Regions from separate parts of the Homo sapiens genome. Here all the other regions are linked to region 2. The links are contacts of gene promoters, found by promoter capture Hi-C in blood cells and fetal thymus (Javierre and others, 2016). All regions are on one chromosome and are shown on one strand. Each heading gives the region's core, a stretch centred on a gene start or on the middle of the fragment in contact. The rest is flanking DNA. Distances are from core to core; before and after follow the strand shown. Region 1 overlaps DENND4B (DENN domain containing 4B). Region 2 holds the start of S100A13 (S100 calcium binding protein A13). Region 3 has its middle 4.3 kb from the start of PGLYRP4. Region 4 overlaps NUP210L (nucleoporin 210 like). Region 5 overlaps GATAD2B (GATA zinc finger domain containing 2B). Region 6 overlaps GATAD2B (GATA zinc finger domain containing 2B).

Region 1 (2,700 bases), core at 123-2,622, 310 kb before region 2:
TCTGTCAAATGGGGAAAATAATTCATCCTCATAGGATGGTCGAGATTAAATGAGATAACCCATGTGACAGACTTAACAGAGTCAGTCAGTGGTAGCTTGTATAACTATTTTTTTTTTTTTTTTTTTTTTTATAGACAGAGTCTCTCTCTGTCACTCAGGCTGGAGTGCAGTGGTGTGATCTTGGCTCACTGCAACCTTCGCCTCCTGGGTTCAGGCAATTCTCCTGCCTCAGCTTCCTGAGTAGCTGAGACTATAGGCATGTGCCACCACGTCCAGCTAATTTTTGAATTTTTAGTAGAGATGGGGTTTGACCATGTTGGCCAGGCTGGTCCTGAACCCCTGACCTCAGGTGATCCACCTGCCTTGGCCTCCCAAAGTGCTGGGATTATAGGCATGAGCCACCGTGCCCAGCTGACCCTTAGTGTTTATTAATGAGTATGAGAGCCATAGAAGGCATGCAGGATTGTTGCTGACCATGAAATAAGGCCAAAGGCCAAAGAAAGGGCACAGGATTCTGGAGGGCAGAGTTCAGCAAGAAGAGGTGGGCCCTAGTGTTAGAGTTTGACAAGGCTGTGGGTACAAGGCAAGTTCAGGGGATTAGATAGGCAGATCTGGCAGGATTGGGTCTTTGTCCTCTACCCTGACCTCTCAACATCTATCTTTGCTCTCTGTGCCAAGGGTGTTGTATGAGGGGAAGGAACGTCCCAAGCCTGGCTTCCAAGTGCTTGACACGACACCCTACAGCCACTCAGCAAACCTGGCCCCTCCAGGCCCCGGGCACCCCCGCACCTACCTCACTTACCGGCGGGCAGCAGAGGGGGCAGGGCTGCATGCCCTGGGCATCACTGACCTCTGCCTGGTGCTGCCCAGTAAGGGCGAGGGCACTCCTCATACTTACTGCCGGCTGCCCCGCAACCTCAACCCTGGCATGGTGAGTGGGGCCAAGAGCTGACACCTGGTCCTCTTGGTGTAAGAGTGGGTGTGGACACTGGGAACAAAGGGCATCCCAGGACCAAGGCTCTGACCACAGGGGTGAGTCCAGAGGGGTAACTCTGGTCTTGGGGCACTGGGATTAATGGGAGCTTTAAAGACAAAAGAACATTTAGGGGTGGTAGAGAGAAAGTGGACCCCAGAAACCTTTGTTAGCTATGTATCTGCTTGTCTCTTGCCATTTCTGGGGTAGTGGGGCCCAGCAGTGTACCTGTGCTATAAGGTGGGCCTGGCGAAGGCCAACACGCTGGTGTACGAGGCAGGTGAGTGGCCCCTTTATCCCTCCAATCCTGTGACCCTACATCCCTTTGCCCTGGTGCCTCTTGGCAGGCACCTTAAGTGTCCCCAGAGTTTACTTTCTCTTTGCTACTCGGGCCTTCTCTGGGATCCCTTGGTTCATTTCCCTTGGAGTCTGATGGACCCTGCTCCTTTTGGGTACCCCCAACTATGCTGGGGGTGCAGAGCTGCTGGGCCGCTACCCGGAGGAGGACAATGAGGCGTTCCCGCTGCCCGAGTCAGTGCCCGTCTTCTGCCTGCCCATGGGGGCCACTATCGAGTGCTGGCCTGCCCAGACCAAGTACCCCGTGCCCGTCTTCTCCACCTTTGTGCTCACGGGTGCAGCTGGTGATAAGGTGGGTGTGTGGAGTGTGGCAAGGGGTCCAGGCTATGCAGGGCCTGCCTGACTACCCTTCTGCCCCCTGCCAGGTGTATGGTGCCGCCCTGCAGTTCTACGAGGCGTTCCCAAGGGCCAGGCTATCAGAGCGACAGGCACGGGCACTGGGCCTGCTGAGCGCCGTGGAGCGGGGTCGGGCACTGGGGGGCAGAGCTGTGCGCAGCCGGCGTGCCATCGCTGTGCTGTCCCGCTGGCCTGCCTTCCCTGCCTTCCGCGCCTTCCTCACCTTCCTTTACCGCTACTCCGTCTCAGGCCCCCACCGCCTACCCTTGGAAGCGTGAGCATGGCTCCTCTGCCATTGGGAAGGGGTTAGGAAGGGATAAGGGGGCCAGGAGAGATGGGAGAGATTCAGATGTGGGTGGGGGGAGGGCTGGGCACAGGGTAAGGGACAGGGCTGCAGTGTGTGGTTATACAGTTTATCCACTGTAAAAACGCCACGGGCTGAGGAGGGGAGCAGGGCCTGAAATCCAGTCTAAACTTACTAGTTAGGTCCTGGCAAAGGGCTGTGTATGCCCAGGGAGGATTTCTTTTCTGATCTGCACAAATTATATGCATAATGGAGGTTCTGTTGGCTGATAACAGGTCTCAAAGTGGGGTTCAGGAAGGAATAAGGTTCTTGAGAACAAGTGAAAGAGCTGAGAAAATGTGGAGGGAGGACAGGGATGGACGGGGGAGTATGCTCTGACCTGTTTCTCTGTCCCCCAGGCACATCTCCCACTTCATTCACAACGTTCCCTTCCCTTCCCCACAGAGACCCCGCATCCTAGTGCAGGTGAGAGCTGAGGCTGGGGCCGGGCTGATGGAAGGAGGGGAGTTGGCATCATTACCCTGAGCCGTGGCTCTTCTTCCCTTCCAGATGTCTCCCTATGACAACTTGCTCCTCTGTCAGCCTGTATCCTCACCCCTGCCCCTCAGGTATGTGATCAGATTGTGGGGAGGGGAGCTTTAATGACCAAGGACATGGTAGGTGCTGGGCAGGTGGGTGCAGCTGTTGAGGTTTATGCAGGCTGGGTCCAGGTGGTGGCTGTGCCTGGCAT
Region 2 (2,823 bases), core at 19-2,518:
GGCCAGGCGGTCAGGAAGCTCATGGTGGGTTCCCCACTGGCTTCCTCCTTTGCTGAGCTGCCAGCTCTCTCTCCGACCTTCAGTTCATTTGTCTCTCATCACCACCTTCCAAACCCTGTCTCCCCCAAATCCCAAACTGCCCTCACCCTGACTGACTCCTCCCAGATCCTCAGTGCTCCACAGTGCTATGGTCCCCAGCCTCTTGGAGCCCTTCTGAAGACCCCTCTCCCTGAAGCTGGCAGGCCAGGGACTAGCCCAGTGGGGCAGGGTACTCACGGTTGGCCTGGGCCTGAGGTGGGAGCAGGTTCTGGACAGATGGCCAAGGTTGCAAATGTGGCTGCTGGAGCTGTGTGTGGAGACCTGTCTTCAACAGTCCCTCCCCCGCTGACCCCCCCACCGACTCCACCCCTTCACAGACGAACACCCTGTGGGGCAAGGGGCCAGGAGCAGACAGAGGCGCCCTCTGTCTCCTGGGCTGGAACAGGCGGCCCTTGTCTCTTTCCCAGCCTTGCTTGCCCCGTTCCTTTCTCTCCAGGCAGCAGTGGATGGTGCAGGGGAAAGAGGTGGGAAGGAGGTCCTGGGAGGGACACTGGATGTCTTACCCCAAGCTGGGCCTTGCAGTACCTGTGGCTGGCTGTGCTGGTTGAGCCCGGTAAGGGGGGAATTCTGCTGAGGGGGTCTTAGTCTGTGGCTCCTCCATGGGGCCTCACTGAGAGGACCCTCAGTGAGAAACTTAGTCTTGGGAGTCTGAGAACCCACAGAGGGATTTCAATCCAGGACTCTTCTCTGGGGGTCTCAACCTGGATCCCCCTCTGTGTGTGGGGCCTCAGCCTGGGGTTCTCTGAGGGATCTTGGTCTGTAGCATCCTTTGTGGGATCTCATTCCAAGGGGCCTCTGTGTGTGTCTCAGATTGGGCCTCTCAGTGTTGAGCTCCCTTGATTGGTTGCCTCCCTCTTCCCCCCTCAGCATACACACTCCTGATTAGACATGGGTATGGTGGCAGCAGCCCCCAGTATTGAGAGGACTAGGACCCTGGGACCCCTGCCGAACGAGATCTGTCCAGGCAGCTCCTCTCCCTGACCAAGTGGGGGCGCTCGTGTGGCTGGCAGGGAGCCCGGGTCCAGACCTGAGGGCTCAGGGCAAGCGGCCTGATTGGGCTGTCTCTGGTCTTCAGAATCGACCACGGAAATTTGACACCTCCGGGCTTGGAAGCAGCTCTCTCCTCCTTCCCCGCTGCTTATAAACCTCAGCCCTGAGGCTCCAGCTCACTCTACCCCATCTCCTTGCCGGGTGAGTCTCATGGCTGACCCTGGAGGGAGGCTGGAGATCATTTTTTCTTCCTGGGCTCCCAGGTCCCTCCCCCAGAGCCAGCTCAGACAGGAATTCAGGAAGGAGCTTTGGATGATCGAGCAACAGCGCGTGCAGGAGTGTGTGACGGGGTGGACAGAAAAGAGAATGCCTCTTCCAGCCCCACCCGCCGCACCCCAGGGGGTTGTGAGTGCCTGTACTAAACCCGTCCTGGAGCAGGGAGTCAGAGACGCCCCGTTCCAGGACCCTTGTCACCGGGAGACAGGAGCGGGGAGGATCTGTGGGGTCCTGGGTTCAGCACTCTGCCCTGCTGCCGCTGAGGAGAGGTAAGGGTGGAGCGGGGCAGAGAAAATGGGTCTGTTCAGACGGAGCCAGCTCTGACCACAGGGGACATTTGCCAGACCCTGTGCTTCTCTGCTGGGAGGAGCGGTTAGAGTGTGTGTGGGCGGATGCGAGTGGCCGGAGACCAGGGCCCAACATAAACAAGCTTTGGAGACAAACAACCTTATGACCTGTGAGTCTGGGTGAGACAAGAAGGGATTCTTGAGACAGACACGCCACAGAGGGGCCACCAGACTTGAAGGACTCCAAGAAGGACCTTCAACTGAAGACCTCCTCTCAAGTAGAGGGGTCTCCAGATCGAGGGATCACCACAGAGGGGTCCCTAAGCCACAGACATTTAAAAAGGATCCCGGATTGTGAGACCTACAGAAGAGGGGGTTTCTGGAGCTGAATCTCCTGCCCCCACCAAAACTGAGATGCCGTTGCCTGGTCTGCTGCCCCAAGCTCAACCCCTGTCCTCTCCCTCTTTCCCCATATGCCCCCTCCAGGCTGAGACTGATGTGATAACACCAAGGCAGGGACCTTCTGAACCATTCCTGCATCTTGGGGCTCCCTGACTCTCCCTCTCTGCTCCTTCTCTCTTCCACAGGTCAGCCCTGACAAAGGTCAGCTAGCCCCTTGAGGACATCAGCTTTGGCCTCAGGGTCCTAATGGCAGCAGAACCACTGACAGAGCTAGAGGAGTCCATTGAGACCGTGGTCACCACCTTCTTCACCTTTGCAAGGCAGGAGGGCCGGAAGGATAGCCTCAGCGTCAACGAGTTCAAAGAGCTGGTTACCCAGCAGTTGCCCCATCTGCTCAAGGTAGGCAGAAGTCTGGGACTGAGATTTTGTGAGATGATGATTATGGGACACTGTGTTTAGGACGTGATGGTGCCGAGTACGGTGAGGTGACCACAAGAAAGGGTGTGGGTGGCTGCATGTGTCAATGGTTGCAGGTTTTCTTTTGTTTTTTCGAGACAAAGTCTCACTCTGTTGCCCAGGCCGGAGTGCAGTGGTGTGATCTTGGCTCACTGCAACCTCCATCTCCGGGGTTCAAGTGATTCTCCTGCCTCAGCCTCCTGAGTAGCTGGGATTACAGGTGTGTGCCACCACGCCGAGCCTATTTCTGTATTTTTAGTAGAGACAGGGTTTCACCAGGTTGGCCAGGCTGGTCTCGAACTCCTGACCTCAG
Region 3 (2,703 bases), core at 109-2,608, 270 kb after region 2:
GCACGAGGCGGGTGGATCACAAGGTCAGGAGTTCGAGACTAGCATGGCCAACATGGTGAAACCTCCATCTTTACTAAAGATACAAAAAATTAGCCGGGTGTGGTGGTGCGCACCTGTAATCCCAGCTACTCAGGAGGCTGAGGTAGGAGAACCGCTTGAACCTGGGAGGCAGAGGTTGCAGTGAGCCAAGATCGCGCCATTGCACTCTGGCCTGGGTGGCAGGGTGAGACTCCATTTCAAACAAACAAACAACCAAGCAAGTAAACAAACAAGCAGGCAGAGGTTCCTGCAGCTACCATCAAATCACTGTGCTCTTTCCCAGATGCCTGGGACCCACTGCGGGTCTGTCTTTCCCTTCTCTGCAGCTCCCACTGTGGTCTTTCAGGGAGCTTTACCCCTCCTGTGTTGTAATGGGGGTGTTACAGCAGGCACACAGTGGGACCCGGACTGAGGGACTGAGCTGGTTTTAGTCCTTAGCTTTCTCAGACTTGCTGGTGGTCTTTAGAAGTGATTTCCATGTTCGGGCCTCCATTTTCTTATCCATTACATGAGGAGATTGGGACAGCTGACCCTTAGGTCATTTCTAGCACAGATTCCAAGTTTTGATGGACTCTTGGTGGGCTTCATGACTACTACTAGCCTCATGGCCCCTGGACACTGTCTCCTGGCTTACTTGCTCCACCTGCAGGTGAAGTCAGGTCCCTCTCCTCACAGGGACTCTGATGCCTGAGGCCCAGCCCCACTCAGGCTGCGCACAGCCTGCTGCCTATTCCTCCACTCCCTGTCTTCCTCCTTGCTGGGAGTCCCAAGTGCTCTTCCTTGGAGATCTCTGGGTACGGGTCTCCTAACCACAAGCGCCCTAACATCCCCCATTTCCCCAGTGCTCATTCTAGACTCTAGTGCATTAGGATGACTTACAGAAGCTATCCACGGGTAGCTTCAGACCATTGTTCTACCACGTTTGGGCTCAGTCCACATCAAGCTTTGACCACCCCTGGCATCCTTGTGGCCTCCCTTGACTGGCCATCCTGAGGTCTCTGAGGCCCTCTGCTGAGAGCAGCCGCACTCCCTGCCCCCATGCTGGGCTGCTCCAGCATCCACAGTGAGGACCCTCCAATGATCTGGCTTCTTAGACATTCAACCTAAGCTTCCCCAAGTCTGGACCTCTCCCCCTGTCTCCACCTTGGCTGCCTCTGCTCATCATCCTCCTAATTTCTCAGACATGCCACCTTCAAAATTGAGAAAGCTGGCATTCCCTTTTGTTGCCTGGCTTCTGTTGCTCCAACCCTTTCTCCTCCCCGATCTCTTGGGAACCTGGCTTTTGCGCTCACTATGTCCCTAGGTTCCAGATCTCTGCAGAAATTTTTGGCGAGTATCTCAGCATCTGGCTTTTGGCATCCTCTGCTCTCAGGACTCCCTTTGAAGTCCACAGCCCTTTGTAAAGAATAAAGGGTTTTCACACTCAGCAGGCATTATAATCACTGGCGTTTGGATCTGTCTCCCTCATTATATTATTAACTACTTGAGAGCAGTGTTCTCAATGTACTCATCCCTGGATGATAAGCTTTGCATATGAGTGACACCTGACAAATGTTTGCAGAATAAAATGAATGACTGGCTTGGTTTGGCCAGAACTTATGCTTAGGAGATGGCTATGCCCTGTAATTATGAAGGCGTTGGTGGATAAAGCTAGTTAGAAAAAAAAAAGACGTGCCACACAGAAGCATGAAGGTAAGGAAGGAAGTGGAAGGGAGTGATGGATAAAAGAGGTTGCTCAGAGACTCCTAGTGAGTGAAAGGTGACTCCGGAGTTATCAGAGGGCGCATGCTGCCACCTTGTGGCCTATCTGCATCAGGACAGCCTGTGGGATTCCTTTGGCCCCAGGTTTTTAATCTTTTTGCTCTCTGGACCCTTTTATATGTATTCATAGAAGTTATTGAGTATCCCAAAGAGCTTTTGTGGATTAGATGTATCAGTATTTACTACATTAAAAGTTTAAAAAATTTAAAATGATTTATTAACTCACTTAAAGTACCATTAATAAACACATTACGTATTACCACGTTTTTAAACAATTAAAAATAATTATATATATATGTCAAAAGCTAGTGAGAAGAGTGTTTTTTTTTCACATTTTTGCAGACCTTTTTACTGTATGGCTTCAAAGAAGACAGCTGGTTTATCACATCTACTTCTGCATACAAGGTATTGCTGTATGTTGCTTTGGTTGAAGATTTGAAGAAAATCCAATCTCCCACAGATAAGTAGTTGCAAAGGGGATGAATACATTAATAGCCTTTAAATATATAATTGTGGATATTCTTCTCTCATATTACATCAAAACCCAACAAGTGATGGTTTCTCAAAGGTTAGTTGCAACGTAAAGTCTGAAACCATATCAATGAATTATTTGTTCTCTGTTACATTAGAATCAATTGGTCCCTCTTAAAATTTAATGGATCTTTTATCCAAACTTTGTGACTTCATATATTGATCATTTGGAAAATATTGGTTGACTGAGTTATGTACGTCTTCTAAATGCTGACATCATTTATTACTCTCTATATATACATATTTATATATATCACACACACATATAAATAAACCACATTTGGCCGGGCGTGGTGGCTCACGCCTGTAATCCCAGCACTTTGGGAGGCTGAGGCGGGCAGATCATGAGGTCAGGAGATCGAGACCATCCTG
Region 4 (2,700 bases), core at 150-2,649, 370 kb before region 2:
CAGGAAGATTGCTTGAGCCCAAGAATTCAAGGTTTCAGTGAGTTGTGATTGTGCCACTGCAGTCCGGCCTGGGCAAGAGCAAGACTCTGTCTCTACAAAAATAATAAATAGTCCAGGCATGGTGGCTCACGCCTGTAATCCCAGCACTTTGGGAGGCTGAGGTGGGAGGATCACGAGGTCAGGAGATCGAGACCATCCTGGCTAACAAGGTAAAACCTCGTCTCTACTAAAAATACAAAAATTAGCCGGATGTGGTGGCAGGCGCCTGTAGTCCCAGCTACTTGGGAGGCTGAGGCAGGAGAATGGCGTGAACCTGGGAGGCAGAGCTTGCAGTGAGCTGAGATTGCGCCACTGCACTCTAGCCTGGGCAACAGGGCGAGACTCTGTCTCAAAAATATATATAAAATAATAATAATAGCAATAAATAAAAATTAAAAATTAGCCAGGCATGGTGGCACATGCCTGGAGTCCTAGCTGCCTGGGAGGCTGAGGTGGGAGGATTACTTGAGCCCAGGAGTTTAAGGCTGCAGTGAGGTAGAATTGCACCACTGCACTCCAGCCTGGGCAACAGTGTGAAATTCTGTCTCTTTAAAAAAAAAAAAAAAAGACAGCTAAGGATTAATCATGGGTAACTGGAAAAACAGTTCCTACCATTGATAAAAATAATGACACCAAGAGGTGGTCTGATACATAAGTTATTAATGATGCTCAAAGCTTGTCTGTCTTTCACAAACCCTTTCCTGAGTTCACCAGCACTGACTACTTCATTCTATATCCCCAGCTCTTAATTGCCCTGCTTGTGTTATATCATTTAATATTCCCTGACATGTTGAATAAGAATGGTATTCTTAGCCAGGGAGCAGTTTCTCACGCCTGTAAACCCAGCACTTTGGGAGGCCAAGGCAGGAGGATCGCTTGAGCCCAGGAGTTTGAGACCAGCCTGGGCAACATAATGAAGTCCCTTCTCTATAAAAAATATAATTTTTTTTTTTGAGACGGAGTCTTGCTCTGTCCCCAAGCTGGAATGCAGTGGTGTGATCTCAGCTCACTGCAACGTCCATCTCAAGCAATTTCCCTGCCTCAGTCTCCCAAGTAGCTGGGATTACAGGTACCCACCATCACACCCGGCTAATCCTCGTATTTTTAGTAGAGATGGGGGTTTCACCATGTTGGCCAGGCTGGTCTCGAACTCTTGACCTTGTGATCCACCCACCTCAGCTAAAAAATACAAAAATTAGCCAGGCACAGTGGCTCATGCCTGTAATCCCAGCTACTCGGGAGGCTGAGGTGGGAGGATCGCCAGAGCCTGGGAGGTCGGGCTGCAGAATGCCATGATCACGCCACTGTGCTCTAGCCTGCACGACACAGTGAGACCCTGTCTCCAAAAAAAAGAAAGAATGGTATTCTCAGAAAACAAGTTTAGTTGTGGTTTCTCTAGGAGTATTTTTCTTTTTATTTGGCATCCTCCTCGTAGTGGCCAATATTGTGCTGATATTGAATACTCAAAACTAAATTCACATTTTCTCTTTTGCTGAATTTGCATGTCACAATTTTCCCTTCCTATCCTAATTCAGTTGGCTCAATAGAGCCTCTGAACCTTCCTGCTCAGTTTTTCCTCTTTTTTTTCCAGGGGTTTATGTCTGCATAATCAAGGTTCGACCGCAGTCAGAGGAGCTGCTACAGGCCCTCAGTGTGGCTGACACCTCAGTCTATGGGTGGGCTACACTGGTCAGTGAACGTAGCAAGAATGGAATGCAACGAATCCTCATTCCTTTCATCCCAGCCTTTTATATTAACCAGTCAGAATTGGTTCTTAGCCACAAACAAGATATCGGGGAGATAAGAGTACTGGGAGTGGACAGAGTTCTTAGGAAGCTAGAGGTATGTTAAGAACTGAACCAAAACAGAACAAGAGATCAGGAATTTGAAAAGATAGTTTTCATTCTCACTTCAAGGGCAAAAGAAGTTACTGAGTGACCTAATAAAAATTACCATAGGAAATGACAAAATCAAATGAAGAAAACCCATCTCCTTCATAATGCCAGGCAGGCTCCCAGAGTCCAAAATCTAGGTCATAAGCTTTGTCAACATACCTAAAGGAGTAAAAAAAGTAAATGATTGGCCGAGCGCGGTGGCTCATGCCTGTAATCCCAGCACTTTGGGAGGCCAAAGTGGGTGGATCACAAGGTCAACAGATCAAGACCATCCTGGCCAACATGGTGAAACCTCTTCTCTACTAAAAGTACAAAAATTAGCTGGACGTGGTGGCGGACACCTGTAGTCCCAGCTACTCGGGAGGCTGAGGCAGGAAAATTGCTTGAACCCGGGAGGCAGAGGTTGCAGGGAGCTGAGATCGCGCCACTGCACTCCAGCCTGGGTGACAGAGCGAGACTCCCTCTCAACAACAACAAAAAAGTAAATGATTTGATTGTCGGCTAGCTAGCTAGAAATCCAGATCTTGACAATTATTGTACTGTATATGTTTCAGATTGGAACATACTGATACAAAGTTGATTTTTCTTCTTTTAAATAAAAGGTTTTATCTTTTCTCCAAGGTCATCTCCAGCTCCCCAGTTCTAGTGGTCGCTGGCCATAGCCACTCTCCCCTCACTCCTGGCCTGGCCATTTACTCTGTAAGAGTGGTCAACTTCACTTCCTTCCAGCAAATGGCATCACCTGTTTTCATCAATATTTCCTGTG
Region 5 (2,900 bases), core at 80-2,579, 260 kb before region 2:
TTGATCAACTCCAGCCGCTTTTTCATCCTCTGCGGCCACCAGCTTTCTGTCTTAGGTTCAGGATGGCCCCCAACCAAGAGCAGCTGCCAGGCTGGCTGGGAAGCAAGAAAGCCTGTTTCTTGTTCTGTCGTTTTTTTTTTTTTTTTTGAGACGGAGTCTTGTTCTTTCGCCTAGGCTGGAGTGCAGTGGTGTGATCTTGGCTCACTGCAACCTCTGCCTCCTGGGTTTATGCGATTCTTCTGCCTCAGCCTCCTGAGTAGCTGGGACTACAGGTGCGTGCCACCACGTCCGGCTAATTTTTTGTATTTTTAGGAGAGACGGGGTCTCACTGTGTTAGCCAGGATGGTCTTGATCTCTTGACTTTGTGATCACTCGCCTCGGCCTCCCATAGTGTTGGGATTACAGGTGTGAGCCACCACACCAGGCCTCTTATCTTTCTTTTTTTTTCTTTTTTTTTTTTTTGAAACAGAGTTTCGCTCTTGTTGCCCAGGCTGGAGTGCAATGGCGCGATCTTGGCTCACTGCAACCTCTGCCTCCCGGGTTTAAGTGATTCTTCTGTCTCAGCCTCCCGAGTGGCTGGGATTGCAGGCATGCCCCCATGCCTGGCTAATTTTTTGTATCTTTAGTAAAGACAAGTTTCTCCATGTTAGTCAGGCTGGTCTCCAACTCCCGACCTCAGGTGATCTGCCCACCTTGGCCTCCCAAAGTGCTGAGATTACAGGCGTGAGCCACCGCGCCCCACTGGCCTCTTATCTTTCTATTGATAATGTAGATGTTTGTAAATTTCCTGTGACTTTTTTTATTTTGTATTCTGAAGAACTTACATACCCAAATAGAGTACAAAGTAATTAACTTTCATGTGCCCACCACAAGCTTCAAAAATTACTAACATTTTGCTATTCTTTACAGTTAATTTTAATGTTGAAAATACAGAGAACATATGAAAATAAGTAACATGTGAGTGTATTTTAAATTTGACGTTCACGCATCTACAACTTTCCTCTTGCCAGCTGTTTCCTTTTATGTTGTCTCCATCTTTCTCATTAGTGTAATTATGAGGGGGGTTAATTGTGTGATTGTCTTGAAATTCCGATAATTGGATGGCTCACAAGTCTACCAAGTTTGAGTGAAGTAAATTCTGAACTTGCCTGCCCAGAGTGATTTATAAATATACATGGTACATTCTTTGTTTTGTGTGTTTTTTTTTTTTTTTTTTTTTTTGGAGACGGGGTTTCGCTCTTGTTGCCCAGGCTGGAGTGCAATGGCACGATCTCGGTTCACCAGAACGTCCGCCTCCTGGGTTCAAGCAATTCTCCTGCCTCAGCCCACCGAGTAGCTGGGATTACAGGGATGTGCCACCACGCCCTGCTAATTTTGTATTTTTAGTAGAGATAGGTTTTTTCCATGTTGGTCAGGCTTGTCTCGAACTCCCGACCTCAGGTGAGCCACCACACCCGGCCTGATACATTCTATTTTTATTCAATAATTAGATCTAGTTCTAGTATAGCCTGTTGAACATAGCAATTCAGTGAGGTGATTATTAAAGTGGAGGGCAAATTAAAAGATTTATGGAAGTCACTGACTGTATGGCTGTGATAACTTACATTTTAGTCTTAGGTTTTCTATTATTACTCCTCATGGTTTGGGGCTCTTAAGTCAGAGATTGAGTAGAACGTCACTATATAGAGGGTAGCTATATATTTTTTTCTTTTTTGCATTGTTTATGATTTCAGAGGATAAAGATAAGAGCAACCTTCACAACAGAAGTGAAAGATGAGAAGCTTAATGTAGAGTAAAATGTCTGAAGCTCTAAGTGAAACTGTTGATAAGCTGGGATTTCTACTCTTGGAACGCTAGAGAGGAAGAGACACTTAGATACTTAGTAACAGCAAAAAGCCAGGCCAAAAAGTAGAACTCAAGTGCTTAGAAACTCTGTGGCAAAAGAGATAAACGTGACTACTAAAACTACTTTCTCTTTCGTCTGTGGCACTTAGTTGATAACAGTTGTTAGCACATTTAGATGTTCAAGTTTAATTTTTGTTGTCAGAAAAGTATGAACATTTGTGACTTGCCTAAAAAGAACTTGGTCCCCCTGCAAAGATAGAGGGAAGGTACAGATCGGAGTGAATGAAAATAATCAGCAATCAAGTATTAAGAAATGAAGTATTTGCACACCTCATCACTGGGAATCAATAGCATGCTGCTGATACAGGATGAGAATAAGTTAGGGATTTAGGACTATTCTAGTTAGGTACTATCTTGTAGACACTACTAGAGATACTTTGTCTTTTGGAAGACAGAAATTATTCTGTAGGTATTAAATACTAATATAATGCTCCATATGATTTTCATGGTTTTTTTTCCAAGGATAGGCAGTGGAATCCCCCAGTTGCCTTAGGAAAATGTATACCACCCTTACAGAAGAGATTGGCCTAGACACATCTTGTGCTGTATGATAAATGAAAAAGTTGATCTGTTTATTTTCTCTGTTCCTGTATGATGATTAAGTCATTGAGTAGTGTATGGCAGTAATTTTTTTTTTTTTTTTGAGATAGAGCCTCACTGTGTTGCCCAGGCTGGAGTGCAGTGGCGCGATCTCAGCTCACTGCAACCTCCGCCTCCCAGGTTCAAGTGATTCTCCTGCCTTAACCTCCTGATTAGCTGGGATTACAGGTGCCTGCCACCATGCCCGGCTAATTTTTGTATTTTTAGTAGAGACAGGGTTTCACCATGTTGGCCACGGTGGTTTCCAACTCCTGTCCTCAAGTGATCCAGCTGCCTTGGCCTCCCAGAGTACTGAGATTACAGGCATGAACCACCACACCCAGCCTGCAGTAATTTTTTATGCTTATTTGCAATACTTGAGTCAATAGAAGTCTTGAAGGCCTCTACAGTTATCT
Region 6 (2,809 bases), core at 254-2,753, 290 kb before region 2:
CTAGGAACAGTGTTAACCAGGTTCCCTGATCAGCCCTTCAAATCTAAATTCTGGCAGTAACTTTTACTGCTGTGCTTAGCATAGGGCCACAGGGTGGTGGCAGAGGGAAGTGTGAGGAATTTGTTCTGAGCCTCACAACCTTAAAGTACTTTCAAAAGCTTGTATGCTGTCCCCCATTTTGGGGTTTTGCCCCCTTCTCCCCTTTTTTTGCCAGACGGGCAAGGCTGGACCTCCAGGTTGAATTTTGGGGACCATTGTGTCAGTGAAGGTATCCTAATCATGTGTTGAGACCTCTGAATTCATCTCACCTTTAAGCAGTGAGTCTTGTGTGTTGCATGTAAAGCATTCCTCCTGTTTCAATTTACTGATTCTTCTTCCTTTCCTCCCCCACCCACCAAGCTGGAGGTGCATGTGGAGGAAAACAGCAGCTGTGCTGTCCTGATTTCTAGACTCTGGAGCATATTCCATGTTAGCCACCCCATTGGGAGTCATGCTGACAAGCAGCCCCTCTGCGCTTAACTTAGAAGGCTCATGTTGCTTGGCTCATTGAGAAAAGCCAACCAGCTTTGGTTGATTAAAACAACTGCTAGAGAAATCGTAAGATTTGAGCCATAACTGGGACTGAGGGACTTTCTTTTCCAGACCTTTGCAGTACTTAAAGCCCTGCATTATTACATATCAAGGCACAATAGCCAGACATTTTCTGAGGTAGTTTGGAGGGAAAGAAAAAGTAAAGACACACACCCAGATTGACTGTAAATCTAGTCCTGGCATAAAGCTGTCCACCTCTTGCTTGGGGAAAAAATCCAGTCTATCAGACAATACCACATAGAGTTGCAGTTCTCCTGCTTTTGGCTAAGCCTAGGAAAAGATATATAAGGAAGTTCAGTTTATGTTACAATGACTGGATTTTGTGGTGTATCTTCTATTAGCCATATTATTTGGTTTATCCTCAGTAGTCTCTGTGAAGCTTTTTCTGTAGGTCCTGTTTGGGGATTTTGGTGGCTCCAGAATCCTTGAAGCAGCAACCTCCTTTCTTTGTGTAGCAGTGATGAAAGCTTCTGAAGAATAGGTCTGATTTGAAACAGACCCCTCCTCATGTTCCATCTTTTACCTTCTCCCTTGTGGATATATGAAATATTCCTGTATAGCTTGAATTCATCCAGTAAGAAGGGAGTGTCCCAGGGTCATTAGGGCTTTTAACCTGTCTGAGGTATTTAGATGGTGGCTTGGTAATGTTTGCTGTCTCTCACAAAATCCCCCTTACCTTTGCCATTTACCTAGGTTGCCATCAGCTGGCAAGAAACTATCAACAGTTTTGGGTTATAGTACAAAAAGCAGCAGATTACTAAGAACACATCATTCGTTACTTTTGAGATATGAAGTGGTCAGATCCAGACCTCAAAGAATCATAGTAACTGCAGAAGCATCTTTGACAATGTGTGAACTTGTTATTAATAATAACTAGTAAACTGCTAAAGAAATTAAGGGAAATTATAGCAATTCCATATTCCTGAGCCATTCTCTTACTGTTTTTCACACCTGGCTAGTTCCATTTTATTTTATTTTATTTTATATTTTTTGAGATGGAGTTTTGCTCTTGTTGCCCAGGCTGGAGTGCAGTGGTGTGATCTCAGCTCAGTGCAACCTCTGCCTCCTGGGTTCAAGTGATTCTCCTGCCTCAACCTCCCAAGTAGCTGGGATTACAGTCACCTGTCACCATGCCTGGCTAATTTTTGTATTTTTAGTAGAGACGGTTTCACCATGTTGGCCAGGCTGGTCTCGAACTCCTGACCTCAGGTGATCTGCCCACCTCAGCCTCCCAAAGTGCTGGGATTACAGGCATGGAGCCATTGTGCCCGGCCTTAGTATCCATTTAAAAAAATAATTCAGGTTACTGTTACCTAAAGCTGAGAGTCGTACTTTAAATCTTTTGATCAAAGCTTTCTTCGGCTTGTCTCATTTCAAGGGAGGGTGGAATTTATAATCTTTAAAAATACATGCTGGAATGTTAGTAGGATTTAGATTAGACACCAGGATTAATAAATTCTCATTATAATTGTGAAGGATTGCAAATGTTAACTGAAAGACTTGTGCATCTCTTGCCCAGAGGATTTTTATAATGTTAGCATTTTTAGAGTATTTAAACTCAAACTTGCTGAAAGAGAGGGGATGAACTAATATGTGGCAGATTGGACTAGTGGAACACAGGTTGTGGAGAGCCTTGAAGTCCTGGGTTGAATTCTAGCTTTGTGATTTATTAGCTAACTGATTTTGGGTAATGCTACTAATTTTTGAATTCTCATTTCTTGCAGACAGAGTAATGCCAGTCCTTGCAATAGCCTTTAAGGCTTTACATGGTTTGCCCTCCCCAACCTCTTCCATTTTTGATCGGCTGTCATCTTCCCTCTTGCTCTCTCCATTCCAGCCACACTGACTTGCTCCTTGAATGCTGATCAGTCACACTCTATCTTAGAACCTTGGCAGGTTCCTAAGACCAAGTGATTCCTTCTAGTGGGAAAACAGCTAGGTTTCCCCACAGAGAATGGCTGATTGCCTCACCTCCTTAACGTCTTTGCTTAAATGTCACCTTTTTAATGAAGTCTTATCCTTCCTTTCTTTAAAATTGTATTGTCAGTTCCCATCCCTCATGCTTATCCTTGCCTGCTCTATTTTCTTTTTCATAGGACTTAACACTTTTATAATATATTTATTTGTTACATTTATTGCCTATTGGTTCTCTTTCTATGATGTAGGTCTTAGAAGGCATGGATTTGTTTTGGTAATTTGTTTAGTGCCTAGTACAGTG

Evidence for each region. The method cuts DNA at HindIII sites, captures the fragments that hold promoters and counts their contacts. A CHiCAGO score of 5 or more calls a contact.
Region 1: a fragment that was not itself captured here is called in contact with the fragment with the promoter of S100A13 in region 2 in 11 of 17 cell types (neutrophils, naive CD8 T cells, total B cells and 8 more); the score reaches 10.5 in neutrophils.
Region 3: a fragment that was not itself captured here is called in contact with the fragment with the promoter of S100A13 in region 2 in 4 of 17 cell types (M2 macrophages, M1 macrophages, neutrophils and 1 more); the score reaches 6.2 in M2 macrophages.
Region 4: a fragment that was not itself captured here is called in contact with the fragment with the promoter of S100A13 in region 2 in 5 of 17 cell types (total B cells, naive B cells, neutrophils and 2 more); the score reaches 10.7 in total B cells.
Region 5: a contact is called between a fragment that was not itself captured here and the fragment with the promoter of S100A13 in region 2, in 1 of 17 cell types (total B cells). The highest score is 5.7, in total B cells.
Region 6: a fragment that was not itself captured here is called in contact with the fragment with the promoter of S100A13 in region 2 in 2 of 17 cell types (fetal thymus and M2 macrophages); the score reaches 6.5 in fetal thymus.

The regions. Positions count from the first base shown.
Region 1 is chr1:153,941,109-153,943,808 of GRCh38, reverse strand. It overlaps DENND4B (DENN domain containing 4B), which reads left to right. Exons shown (of 28, transcript NM_014856.3): 3 at 679-931; 4 at 1,184-1,253; 5 at 1,453-1,622; 6 at 1,696-1,940; 7 at 2,369-2,435; 8 at 2,520-2,578. Among named protein-coding and RNA genes, the nearest start is that of DENND4B, 4.3 kb to the left of the region's middle. The HindIII fragment of the contact is 4,975 bases long and covers 1-2,700 here.
Region 2 is chr1:153,625,950-153,628,772 of GRCh38, reverse strand. S100A13 (S100 calcium binding protein A13) reads left to right here and starts at 1,268. Exons shown (of 3, transcript NM_001024211.2): 1 at 1,268-1,290; 2 at 2,240-2,453. The coding sequence starts at 2,301. It overlaps S100A1 (S100 calcium binding protein A1), which reads right to left and starts at 339. Exons shown (of 3, transcript NM_006271.2): 1 at 277-339. RefSeq lists enhancers at 1-194, 1,021-1,846. The HindIII fragment of the contact is 11,281 bases long and covers 1-1,797 here.
Region 3 is chr1:153,351,753-153,354,455 of GRCh38, reverse strand. No RefSeq gene overlaps it. Among named protein-coding and RNA genes, the nearest start is that of PGLYRP4, 4.3 kb to the right of the region's middle. RefSeq lists silencers at 656-705, 1,731-1,780. The HindIII fragment of the contact is 417 bases long and covers 1,150-1,566 here.
Region 4 is chr1:154,000,916-154,003,615 of GRCh38, reverse strand. It overlaps NUP210L (nucleoporin 210 like), which reads left to right. Exons shown (of 40, transcript NM_207308.3): 36 at 1,631-1,881; 37 at 2,556-2,700. Among named protein-coding and RNA genes, the nearest start is that of RPS27, 12 kb to the right of the region's middle. The HindIII fragment of the contact is 1,365 bases long and covers 717-2,081 here.
Region 5 is chr1:153,887,735-153,890,634 of GRCh38, reverse strand. All of the region lies in intron 1 of GATAD2B (GATA zinc finger domain containing 2B), which reads left to right. Among named protein-coding and RNA genes, the nearest start is that of GATAD2B, 34 kb to the left of the region's middle. The HindIII fragment of the contact is 908 bases long and covers 876-1,783 here.
Region 6 is chr1:153,917,726-153,920,534 of GRCh38, reverse strand. All of the region lies in intron 1 of GATAD2B (GATA zinc finger domain containing 2B), which reads left to right. Among named protein-coding and RNA genes, the nearest start is that of GATAD2B, 3.8 kb to the left of the region's middle. The HindIII fragment of the contact is 885 bases long and covers 1,061-1,945 here.